2 separate regions of the Homo sapiens genome follow, and region 2 is linked to region 1. Evidence: promoter capture Hi-C in 16 types of primary human blood cells and fetal thymus (Javierre and others, 2016). All regions are on one chromosome and are shown on one strand. The core of a region is centred on a gene start or on the middle of the fragment in contact, and the rest is flanking DNA. Distances in the headings are between cores, read along the strand shown.

Region 1 (5,865 bases), core at 1,964-4,463:
ATTGGTTTTTTTTTAAGTTGTACTTTAAATATTTTCAAGAGTTCAGCTACTGGTATGGAAAATTCCTCTAGTTACACACTAAAGAAGTAAGCACAAATTAAGTACAAAAAACTTCATACCCTCAACATTTGGTGTAACGTGGCAAAAAATGTTCGTTACCACAATATTAAGAAATATCAACAATATGAGTTTGAATAACTAATTCATAAGGAAGAGTTTGAACTGGACGAAATCCTGGGTTTTCTTTCTTCACTCCAAGTTTCTTTTCTATTTTAAACTAGTGGCAACAGCAATTTCTTTGTTTGAAAGTCAGGAATGCTGGAAATCTTAAGTGATAGAACAGGTAGCTGGGCTTCTACTTCACGTCTCTCCTCAGAGGGAGAAAATAATTGTGGATAAAGTAATTTTCTTTGTATTTCTGGAAAAATCATTTTTCCCATCAATCTTCATAATTCTCTAAAATAAACTGTTAAAAAGTTATAGGCTGGTCGGCTACCTCACCCTGATTTGTGGAAACACTATACAGTAATTTCAAGAACACATGGCTAACTGAAGTTTTCTAAAGGTCTAAAAGTTGCTCCTAACGCCTTCATAAAACTCTAGGAGAATTTTACAAGCTCACGATAGATTTCTGCATCTCATCTGCAATATTTTGCTACATAACAATAATAAAAATAGTCTAGCTTCAAGAGTCACACTGCATGCTATCAAATTTATTATTAAGGTATTGTACATTTTCAACTATGGAAAAAACTGTGTGCTGCACAAAGTGCTTAAGAACTACATTAGAAATAAAATGGAAATAAGAAGTTAAGAATTTACCATTTCATTAAGATGAAGAGAATGACCAAAAAAAAAAAAAAAAAAGATTCCTCTCTTCTTTGCTAACGTTGAGATGTTTGCCCTACTCAAATTAGGTGGGACAAAGTAATCACAACTCAGAGGGCACAGAGTGAAAGGCAGAATTTGTAATTTAAAGTATATGATTCACATTCGAATCCACATTAATTAAGATTTAAAAATTCAAGAGATAGGCAACTCAGATAATTAAAAGCAGGGAGCAATCAGAAATACTGAACAGCAAGCAGTTCCTAAACCATATAAATTCAATAAGTTCAAGACAAATAAAATAAAAATCAGAAACCATTTTCCCCTCAGCACACAGAGTTCCCCAGAATCACAAACTTGATGAACTGGAGGCACTCACTCTGCTGACGCACACACGCAGGCTCGCGCACACAATGGAGCGAGAAGCATGGAGACCCTCAGAGACAAACTTCACATGTGCATCGTTTTACTCTCCACAGAATGGAAAGAAGAGCACGGTGAGAAAATGTCACTTTTTCCCAGATCAAACAGCAAAACTGTACTTAGTATTGTGAACTATGAATTCCCTTGATACAATCAAAGGCAGAACTGAATGAATGGGGTGTGGGGCAGGGTGCGTGGGGAAAAGAAGGAGGGAAGGAGAGGGGAGGCCGCCTGAGAGGAAGAAAGTTTAAGGCATTTTGCAAGGCTTGAGTGGATTAATCTTTTTTTTTAAGCCCTACTATTTCCTATTTCCCTTTCTCTCTCTCTCTTTATTTAATATACACTAACTTCCTGAGACTCAACCCAGACTTGCCCTAAATGCAGCTGAAATGTCTGGTGTTTAGGACACACCAAGAGTTCTAGGTGCACAAATAAATCCCATTTTGGGAAAGAATTTAAAAATCACTTTTGTGGACATTCATAAAATGAGAACACTGAAAAAAAAAAAAAAACTCCATGTATCAATAAGTAAATTGAGGCCCCAGTCTACAGCTCTTTGATTTCTACTAGAAATATAAGCTATTTACTATAAACATTTTATTTTTGAACTTCAAAAAAGTTTGTTTTCACATTTTAGATCATGAAAGACTGAGGCTTCAGTGGTTTTAGCCCCTAAATGGGTTGTTTAGGCCATCTAGCAAAGGAAAAAAAAATAGAACATGAATGCTTTAAAAAGTTAGTAAATTTGGATAACACTTAGCAGATAGCCTAAAATGCACCGATTTAAAAACATAACAGCATAAAAAGTTTTCTGACATAGCTTATCTTTAATAAAATGAAAATATAATGGGAGGGGGTTGGGCTGGGTAGACTTCGAGTAACAAGTTGGGTCCCATGCAGTAGTCCCTTGTCCAAGACAAAAAGCTTCCTTTAACCACATGTAACAGTCATCTTGTGGGAAAGGCACGGAGGGGGCTGAGAAGTCATCACCTCAGTGACTCTGAACAGAACCAGCATTTCTCACGCCACACTATGGGCTGGGCTAGGTCGGGGAGCAAGCTACAACTTTGCCCTTAAGCAGCAGTACCGAAAGGGAGAAAGAGGTCACCTCTCTCTTAGCCCTACGCACACAGGAAGAGCCCAATTCAAGCCGCCGCCGCCGCCACCCCTGGTGTTGCCCCGCCCCAACTTGAGTGTGTGTTTGGGGTGGGGGGTGTAGGGCACTCACTACTCGCGTTATACCCCACAAATTCCAAGGCACTTCCATCTCTCCCAGGTTAAGTTCCGCCCCCCCATCCCCAACCGTGCCAAGCTCAGCAGGCGCAGGTGTCTGTGGCTCTGGCCTATTTTTATACCCCCAACCGCCCTCAATCTCCACCTAGTTGCGCGCTCCAGTCCCGCCTCGCCTTCCCAGCGAAGAGCACTACCTAGCCTACACACCAGGAAACACCTCCAGCCCTACTCCCAGGTCACCTGGCCATAGTGACCGGCCCTGCCCTCAGGGGAGCCCTGGGGCCGTCCCTTGTCGCCGGTGCCCAGCACCGAGGGCGCACCGGGCTCCCAAGCAGTCACGTGGGCGGCGGGGGCGGCCTGCGCTTCCTCACCTGCATCCCAGGCACTTGGACAGCCACCGGCGAGTGGGCCATGGAGGCGAATGCTGCCTCGCTCCGCTTCTGCGGCGGTGGCGCCTTGGGTTCGGACTGGCTCCTCCCTCCGGGGGTAGTTCGGCGGCCCTCCCAGGCTTTTCGATCGGGGCCTGGGAGGACACACAAAAGTGGGGTTACTGGGCTGGCGGCGCGTAGCCCGGGGCTAGGAGGTGGGCTGTTAGCGGCGCAGCTCCCTGGGACTCAGTCTACCTTTCTGGCGCCCGCCCGCCGCTGAAGCAGCCGCCTCCGCTGCTGCTCCTCTTCCTGAACGCCGAGCGCTGTGAGTGGTGGTGGCTGGGACCTGGGCTCGAGTGATGCCGCTCCTCTGCGCCTCGCCGCTTTAGGAAGAGGAGGTGGAGGCGCCCCAGCCACCCGCCTGCTCGCCTGGCCTGGGAGGCGGTTGGGGGCGGTTCCGCCGTTGGCCCTGCCCCCGCCCCGCAGCCGGGCGGTGTCGCGGGAGCCAAGGCTCCAGGCAGCGAAGAGGTTTGGCTGGGGTTGCTGGAGTCTGAGAAGCTGGAGACTCTCCCGGCACGCGGAGAGGAGAACCCGGGGACCCGGAGACCTGGGACATGGCTGGGCCTGGGAAGAGAATGGAAGAGTTTGGGAAACCCTGAGGGTATGAGGGCGCCCCAGATGCGGCCACGTTGCAGGGAGGCGTGCGAGGCTGGGGCACACGCAGCCTCGGAGACGACTTGAGCTGAAACTTGGGGAGTGTTGGAAGTCTTTCTTGGCTCCCCGGCCTGGCCAAGGGTAGGATTACAGATAGCCGCGGAGTCGGTGGACCCCCGCTTTTTCCCGCCATCTGGTCTCCTCAGCTGGGGGTCGCGCCTCTGGGCAGATCTGTGGCCACACTCTTGCTTTCCGAGTTCCCTGACCCCAAACATGCTTCAGGTGACTTCAACTTAAGGTTCCCCCTACCTCCTGGGCTATCCCTTGCAGAACGGCCAAACTAGGGCTTCTCTCTACCACAAGTTCTGCACGTGTAAGGCAGAGGGAAATTGGAAAACAGATGGTACATCGGCAGAAAAATTAATGAGGATAGTAGAGGCTTGGGAAATGAGATTGGATCGTTAGCAGTACAGGTTATTGAAATCAGCATACACTGCAGTGGTTTTGGTAACTCCCTGCCTCCGCCCCATTTTAAGTTCTACTCCAGGAGAGGGAGACAGGCTCTTTTGAGAGTACTCTAACAGTAGCGACAGTAACACTGGTAATAATAGTAACAGGAATTTCATTATGAAGGCACCTTTGGGAACACGTAAGGGGTTAATTACTTTTTAAAAAAGTAATAGTCGAGTGCCAGTTTAAAATGAAGATGAAGTTCCTTACCTTGAAATTTGTTATGGGTCTCTACGCACCACACGGTGGGGGGCCTCTAGTGGTAAAAGATAGTTTCTCTTCTTCCTTTTAAATCTTTTTCAGAGAATAGTATATAATTCTTATCAATATCGTTATTATTAATGGATATTATTTTCATTGTGCCAGGGACTGCTAAGTGCTTTCTATGTGTTATTAATACCTTACTGAACCTGTACAAGGGCCTTCTGGAGTCTTATTGATTTCCCCTCATTTTACAGATGAAGAAAAAGGCTCAACCAGGTTAAATAATTTGACCGAAATGTCACGCAATTAAGAAGTGGTACAGCTGGGAATTCAGACGCAGGTCCCTCTGACTGGTGATAAACTTACTACTTTCTCTATGGTTTCTGTTTGTGTTTAATGATGATAAAAGGTACAATTGCATTTTCCTTACTCCTAGTTCCCCAAGTCCAGCCCTTCACTATTTCTAACCTAATGTTAGGCTCCAATCTAGTCTCGATTTCCCACCAACCCAGCTCACAACATTGCCAGCCTGACCGGAAACCTGCAGTGCCACCTAAACTTTTAATGTCCATAGAAATCCGAGGGTTCTTTTGCTCCCTCAAAAGCGCAGATTTTTATCTCCCATGTCTGGACTGGGCCCAAGATTCTGCAATGCTAACAAGCTCTCACATGGTGATGATGTTTAGATCACACTTTTAAGTCGCAAGGGTCTGAATCAAGCTCCATCATTTAAGACCTGTCTCAAATCTCACCTCCATTGACCCTTCCTAGTTGCTCCAAGCCCTCCTTCAAACTCCTCCAATGTGAGCAGCGCTCACACTGTAGTTCTTTCTTCTTATTTCATATATTTCATTTGTTTTGTGTGCCCATATTAGGTCCTTGAGGGCAGAGATCCAGCCTCTCTTACATGAGAATGATTCAGGTAGGATGGCAGGAGTCTGAGGGCAAGCTTTTTATACATTTTGTCCATTGCTGTATCCCCAGAGACTAGGTTCATGGCATGTAGTAGGCCCTCAATAAATAATTGTTGAATGAATGAATGAACTTCTTTTGAATTCTCCACTGAGGTTACTAGGTGCATAATGTATACACTATATATTTTATTGATGTCAGGTTAAACCCCTAGGCATTGCCCTTACTGAACATTTAAATTGTTCAGTTTATTGTGTGTTACATCTTTCATTATTTAGTCTCCAAAATTCTTTCCTGCTAGTTTAATTTCACAACTACTTATGAGCCAGTTGTATAATTTTGATAGATAAGTAAATTAAGCATATCAGAGAAATGACTTTCTCTGACATCATTCTGGGCCAGAGTTATGTAACTATGTGGAAGAATAAAAGCTTAATGCTGAGACCTGGAATATTGAGACATTTCCTGAAAGACATTGCATTTGAGATCTTAGTGAGCTTTTTAGCCTTTATTTAGGTTTACTGCTATTAAATAAAGCATCAGTTGTTGTTATAATTGATAGAGATCACTTGAGTTTTTACATGGGATTGCTTGTGGGCTTTTAAATGATTTTTCCTGTGTGTGTGTGTGTGTGTGTCTGTGTCTGTGTGTGTGTGTGTATCTATAAATTAAATCTTGTGAAGGTGTCAACATTTGAAAACAATTCAAATTTTATGAGCATTAGAAACTTTTT
Region 2 (5,865 bases), core at 2,108-4,607, 1.9 Mb after region 1:
TTTTAATAATCAAGGAGTCAGGAGTCTCGCACAGTTTCAAGTGTTTCATCAGTTTCATCAGTTACTCAGCCCTTCTCTCCACGTCACTCAGAGGAGGGGCCTTGTGGTCACTTTGGCAGTTTGACCAGCAAGAAGGAGGCTTACTGTCACCCCTGACTCTGTCTAAGGTCCAACCATACGCTCAAGGAAAGGCCAGCTGTGAGCCTAGAGGAGTTGTCTTCAGTGATCCCAGTGCCTTTATAGAGGCCCCCCTCTGCTCCCCATGACACAAGAAGTTGCCCTTGTTATGTCCTCCCTCCCGCCATCCCCTGCACATTGACATATTCCTGTCATATCAGGTTTCTACCTTTTCTGAATTAAAGGTGAGCACAAATGGTCAGACAAGAATATTTGCACTTAGCCTATTACATAAACTCATGGAGGGGGAGGATTGAACATTCCCCTGGCCCTCGGTTAAGTCACTGCATTTTTACAAAGACCTGAAGACAATACCAACAGAATGAATAAGGAGCAGTTCATGTATTAGATGCCCCAGACAAGTAAAGAAGATATCATTCCAGGGGGGCTGTTACAAAAAAACAAGTTTTGTCTATTACGAAGGGCTGGACCCTGCCTCAATTTCTTTAAAAGGGCTCATGGCTTTCTGCCAGAACCACCCCACTCCACCGCCATCTCAACTCAGCCCTAATTTTTTAACTATAAACTGCAATTTAAAATAAAGCAGCTTTTTCATTCTCCATGGATTTCCATCATTTCCTTCCCTCTAACGCCTTGAGGCTTAGCCAAAGTGGGGTTTTGCAGCCTATCGGCACCCAAGCAGTAGAAGAGACATCAGGATGTGTAAAGTGCTTTGGGATCCATCCCAGAGACTAGGACCCACAGATGCCTCCTGCCTCCCTCTGCCCACAGGTGCCGCTGCTCGGGGTAGGGGTCATGGATGGGAATCCAACATGCTTTTCCTGGCAGGACCTGTCAGGCAGGGGCTAAGGGTAAGAATGCAACCCCATTCTCAACCGCCCTAAAAAACTGAGTGAAGTGGGGACGGGGCCCCGCTGAGAGAGGTGAAAAGGGGTGAGGAGGAGCCGAGGGTCCTCGGCTCAGCAAGAGGCGAAACCGCCACGCGCTGGACGCTGGACGACGACAACCGCTAGAGCTATGCCTCGGGCGAGGTCCCCTCCCGGGTCCCACCCTTCCTGGACCTGACCCCCTGGATCACCTTGATCTTCTCGCCCTCGATTTCCACGGTCTTCTCCCTGAAGTCCACGCCGATGGTGGCTTCAGTCTTGTCTGGGAAGGTACCCCCGCAGAAGCGGAAGGTCAGGCAGGTCTTGCCCACGTTGGAGTCCCCAATCACGATTATTTTGAAGATGCGAATCTGCACGTACTGGTCCAGCGACGAGTCGAGCTCCAGGGACGCCAGGCCAGCGGCCGAGGCGGGCTGCAGGCTCCCATGGCCCAGGATGGGCTGCGCCATCTCCCCCGGACCGAACCGGGGCCCCAACCCCCCTTGAGGGCTCCACACAAAGAGAACGTCCACGTTCGTGCGCTCGAGGCGAGCGAGCTCTGTGCGTGTGTGTGTGCGCGCGTGTGTGTGTGTCCGCCCGTGTGTGCGTGCGCCGGCACCGTGTGCGCGCGCGCGCGTGAAGGGGGTGCCTCTCACTCCGGGCCCCCCTCCTCCTCCTCCAGCGCACCCTCCTTGCAGCTCGGAGGCACCAACACAAAAGCCAGGGAGAGGAGGAGAGAGGGAGGAGAGTGGACGAGCCGCGAGCCTTCTGCCTGTGTGCGCCCTCGGACCGGATGCTCTGGCGAAGGACCCTACCGCGCTGCTCCAGCCGCCGCCGCGCCTCGGCCCACACCCTCCCCTGCCTGCATTCCCGGGACGGACCCGAGGGAAGAAGCCTCAGGAGGAAAGAGACGGGGTGGGGACAGCGGCACACGCCACCCCGGGATAGACTTCTTTCTCCTTGCCCCCGTTTATGTTATAGGTTTCGGGCTCCCCACCCCCACTGGCTCGAGCGCACGGGGTCAGCGGGCAGGGAGCACAGCTGGGGAGGACAAAGAGCTGCACCTTAAGACATCACTGGATCACTTCGGCCTCCCTGGAGCAACGCAACTCTGCGGGGATGGGGTGGGGGCGGAGGCACCTCTTTCACCTCGGGAGCAGCGGGCAGCTGAGCCGCGCCTTCCCGGTCCCCGCTACCCCGTCCCCTCTACCCCCACCCTCTACCCGACCCGCGCCTTGGGATAAAGGGATGCTCTGTCTTAATGAGTGAGCAGGTGCACTCGCGGGCCCCAGGCAGCCTGGGAGGCCGCTGCCAAGACACGCAGTGGGTTGTCCGGGGCCTGTACAGCTGAGAGGAGGGAGCCAGCGGGCACGCGTGTGCGTGTGTAGGGGGTGTAACTGTTTCTGTTACAGACTTGCCAGATGTAGGGGGGCGCGTACCAGGCGCCAACATCCCCTTATCACACCACGCGCACCCATCCTCTGAATGTTCAGGAGAGCGGCTCCTATTGGCTGCCGCAGTCGGTTGTGTTTGGCTGGCCAATGGGGAAGGCCCGCCGCGGGAGAGGGCCACACAGAGGCTAGGAGAAGGGGGGGAAGCTAGTGGTGGCAGTTCCAGCAAAAGGGGACTTTGTTTACGGGGCTAGCCATTACTGGCCCAGGTGGAGGATCTTGGGACAATGGCATAAGCTCCACAGTGCCTTCCATTCCCAAGCCCTCCATATAACCATAAGTCCCTCCAGAACGCTGGAGTTTCAGAGGGAGTTGGGAATCCCTAGGAGGGTTCACCTCCCCCTGCAGCTGAATGTAGAACAAAGTGGTTGGGTCTAATTTGCCAGAAGCCTAGATTATGCTTGGAAGATGATAAATGAACACAACCTCCTTACAGTATTAGGGGGCTGCTGCCCAAAGCTTACTAATCATCACACACATCTTGGTCAAGACCAGTATTCCTTCTCCCTAAAGTCATTCGCGGGTTCAGAATTTGTTTGAAATCGACTTTACTGGGGGTACAATTTACATACGATAAAGTGCACCCATTTGTTTCTTTTAAGACTTTACCTCTCCCCCTACATATTTCATAAGCTAAGGTAACACTGACACATGTCACTAGCACTGACTCGTGAGTTATTGCTAATGCCATCAAGGTCAGGGATTCAAACAGCACAGTTGAGCTGCCATCTTATTTGGGAGGTTGAGCTGCAGGAAGAGACAAACATGACCAAATCCATTTCTGCTGAGAGAAAAACAATTCAGTGCATCAGTGATATACCTGAAAGCAAATTGGAATGTGACTACTCAAGGACGTCCAAGTTACTCAGAATGGCATCTTCCAGTTAATAAGTTTATTAGCTGAGCTAGCAGATATATTTACAGCTAACCCTTTTATCATATATGTGGGTCGCCCATTTCTAAAACCCTACATTATACTACTCAGCATTAAAACTACCCAGATAAGGATTTCCTCTTAGTTGGCTAATCCAAAATCATCCTTATGAATACCAATTTTCATTGTATTATGTATCAATCATCATTGTACAGTATTTTTGGTTTTGATTAGTCTGATGCCTAGTTTGCTGGATCGTTCCCCTCTGTATTGGAAGTTAATGCCCCTGATGATCTTTATCTACAGAATAGCTTTAAGGTGGAGAGGGGTAACTATTAATTAGGTACATCCTGTACACAAAGTAGAAAGGGGCTTTGCCCTTTGCCAATTCACAGCTAGAATTAATGCTAACTTCCTGAGAGATATTAAAAAAACATATGTACATAATAAGATTATTTCAATGTAAGCTTCTAGCAAAAACTTGTCACTGAGTCTACTTTTGTAAGGAAGAAACTTTGATTTCTGAAAATATGATATCTCAAAATGGGCTTCTTGCCCTAATAAAAGGTGTCTGTTACTTCTGTGGGGTGAGACTTTGGGGGATTTCCACTTATATTTTTTGGAATTAATTCAATGAGTATATATTGCTTTTGAAAAAAGATAAAAATATAATTTTTAATTAAAAGGACAGGAAAACTACCTTATTGTACCTATTGTAAAAAAATTAAATGTACTGTACAATGCCCTTTGTGTTAATTGTGCATTATTAAATTACTTTCAAATACATGCAGTTGTTTTCATAGGTACCTGATTATCATGATTTTGACAGTGTTTTCCAGTCTCTTTTGCCATCAGATATAATTAACTTTGTATTTAATCAATCCATGATTATTGGTTTTTACAAATATCAATAAAAATCAATGCAAGGCTGTTAAAATGTTAAGTAAATATAAATAATTTTTACCTTACTTTGGAATTGATACTTTTTTTTTTTTTTTTTGAGATGGAGTCTCGCTCTGTCACCCGGGCTGGAGTGCAGTGACACAATCTCGGCTCACTGCAAGCTCCGCCTCCCAGGTTCACGCCATTCTCCTGCCTCAGCCTCCCAAGTAGCTGGGACTACAGGCGCCCGCCACCACGCCTGGCTAATTTTTTTGTATTTTTAGTAGAGACGGGGTTTCACTGTGTTAGCCAGGCTGGTCTCGATCTCCGGACCTCGTGATCCGCCCGCCTTGGCCTCCCAAAGTGCTGAGATTACAGGCATGAGCCACCGTGCCCGGCCTGGAATTGATACTTTCAATATTTATCCCCTGGCCTAAAGTGATCCACCCTCCTCGGCCTCCCAAAGTGCTGGGATTACAGGCATGAGCCACAGAGCCTGACCATATTTTCAATATTTATCCAAAGGAGCTCTAGATAAAATGTCACCCATTGCCTGCACTTCTGAACACTGATCTACTCTGCTTAATGGGTAAGGGAGCCCTGGATCATCTTCACCACATAATGACTACTTCCTAGGCCTGGCACAGTGGCTCACACGTGTAATCCCAACACTTTGAGAGGCTGAGGCAGCAGGATTGCTTGAGCCCAGGAGTTCAAGACCAGCCTGGGCAACGTAATGAGACTGTCTCTTAAAGAAAACCAAAAAACAAAACTACTTCCTGGGTTAAACTTCACAGAAGGGTGTCTTTGTAGGCCGGGCGAGGTGGCTCATGCCTGTAATCCAAGCACTTTGGGAGGCCGAGGCGGGCGATCACCTGAGATCAGGAGTTCAAGACCAGCCTGGACAACATTGTGGAACCCCGTCTCTACTAAAAATAGAAAAATTAGCAGGGCGCGGTGGCATCTGCCTGTAATCCCAGCTACTCGGGAGGCTGAGGCAGGAGAATTGCTTGAACCTGGGAGGCAGAAGTTGCAGTGAGCCGAGATACTGCCACTGCACTCCAGCCTGGGTGACAAAGGGAGACTCCGTCTCAAGAAAAAAAAAAAAAAAAAAAGAGTATCTTTGTAATTTCTTTCTTTTTCTTTTTTGAAATAGGGTCTCGCTCTGTCATCCAGGCTGGAGTGCACGGGAGCAATCACTGCTCACTGCAGTCTCGATCTCCTAGGCTCAAGTGATCCTCCCATCTCAGCCTCCTGAGTAGCTGGAACCACAGGCACATACCACCACGCCTGGCTAATTTAAAAAAAAAATGGTAGAGATGATGTCTCATTATGTGCTCAGGCTGGTCTGGAACTCCTGGCCTCAAGCAATCTTCCCACTCGTCCTCCCAAAGTACTGGCATTACAGGCATGAGCCACTGCACCCGGCCCTGTAATTTCATTCTCTATCCCCATTCCACCAAAAAAAAAAAAAAAGTAACTTCATTACCTCCAAAGTTAGGGCCCAACTCTTGCCAGTTCAAATCTGGCCCCCCACCATACTTGCCTGTCTTTATCACTACTTCTTTATTTTTTTCTTTTTGGAGACAGAGTCTTGCTCCATCATCCAGGCTGGAGTGCAGTGGCACAATCTTGGCTCACTGCAGCCTCCACC

Evidence for each region. Contacts are between HindIII fragments. The CHiCAGO score rates a contact against its expected background, and 5 or more counts as called.
Region 2: a contact is called between a fragment that was not itself captured here and the fragment with the promoter of STK26 in region 1, in 1 of 17 cell types (naive CD8 T cells). The highest score is 6.6, in naive CD8 T cells.

Annotation. Positions count from the first base shown.
Region 1 is chrX:132,020,650-132,026,514 of GRCh38, reverse strand. It overlaps STK26 (serine/threonine kinase 26), which reads right to left and starts at 3,213. Exons shown (of 12, transcript NM_016542.4): 1 at 3,108-3,213; 2 at 2,856-3,007. The coding sequence starts at 2,897. RefSeq lists enhancers at 2,532-2,601, 2,571-3,118, 2,972-3,131, 3,582-3,631, 3,119-3,665 and a silencer at 3,172-3,421. The HindIII fragment of the contact is 2,994 bases long and covers 2,178-5,171 here.
Region 2 is chrX:130,167,672-130,173,536 of GRCh38, reverse strand. It overlaps RAB33A (RAB33A, member RAS oncogene family), which reads right to left and starts at 1,575. Exons shown (of 2, transcript NM_004794.3): 1 at 1,217-1,575. The coding sequence starts at 1,474. RefSeq lists enhancers at 1,038-1,992, 2,802-2,851 and silencers at 2,112-2,191, 2,362-2,421. The HindIII fragment of the contact is 882 bases long and covers 2,917-3,798 here.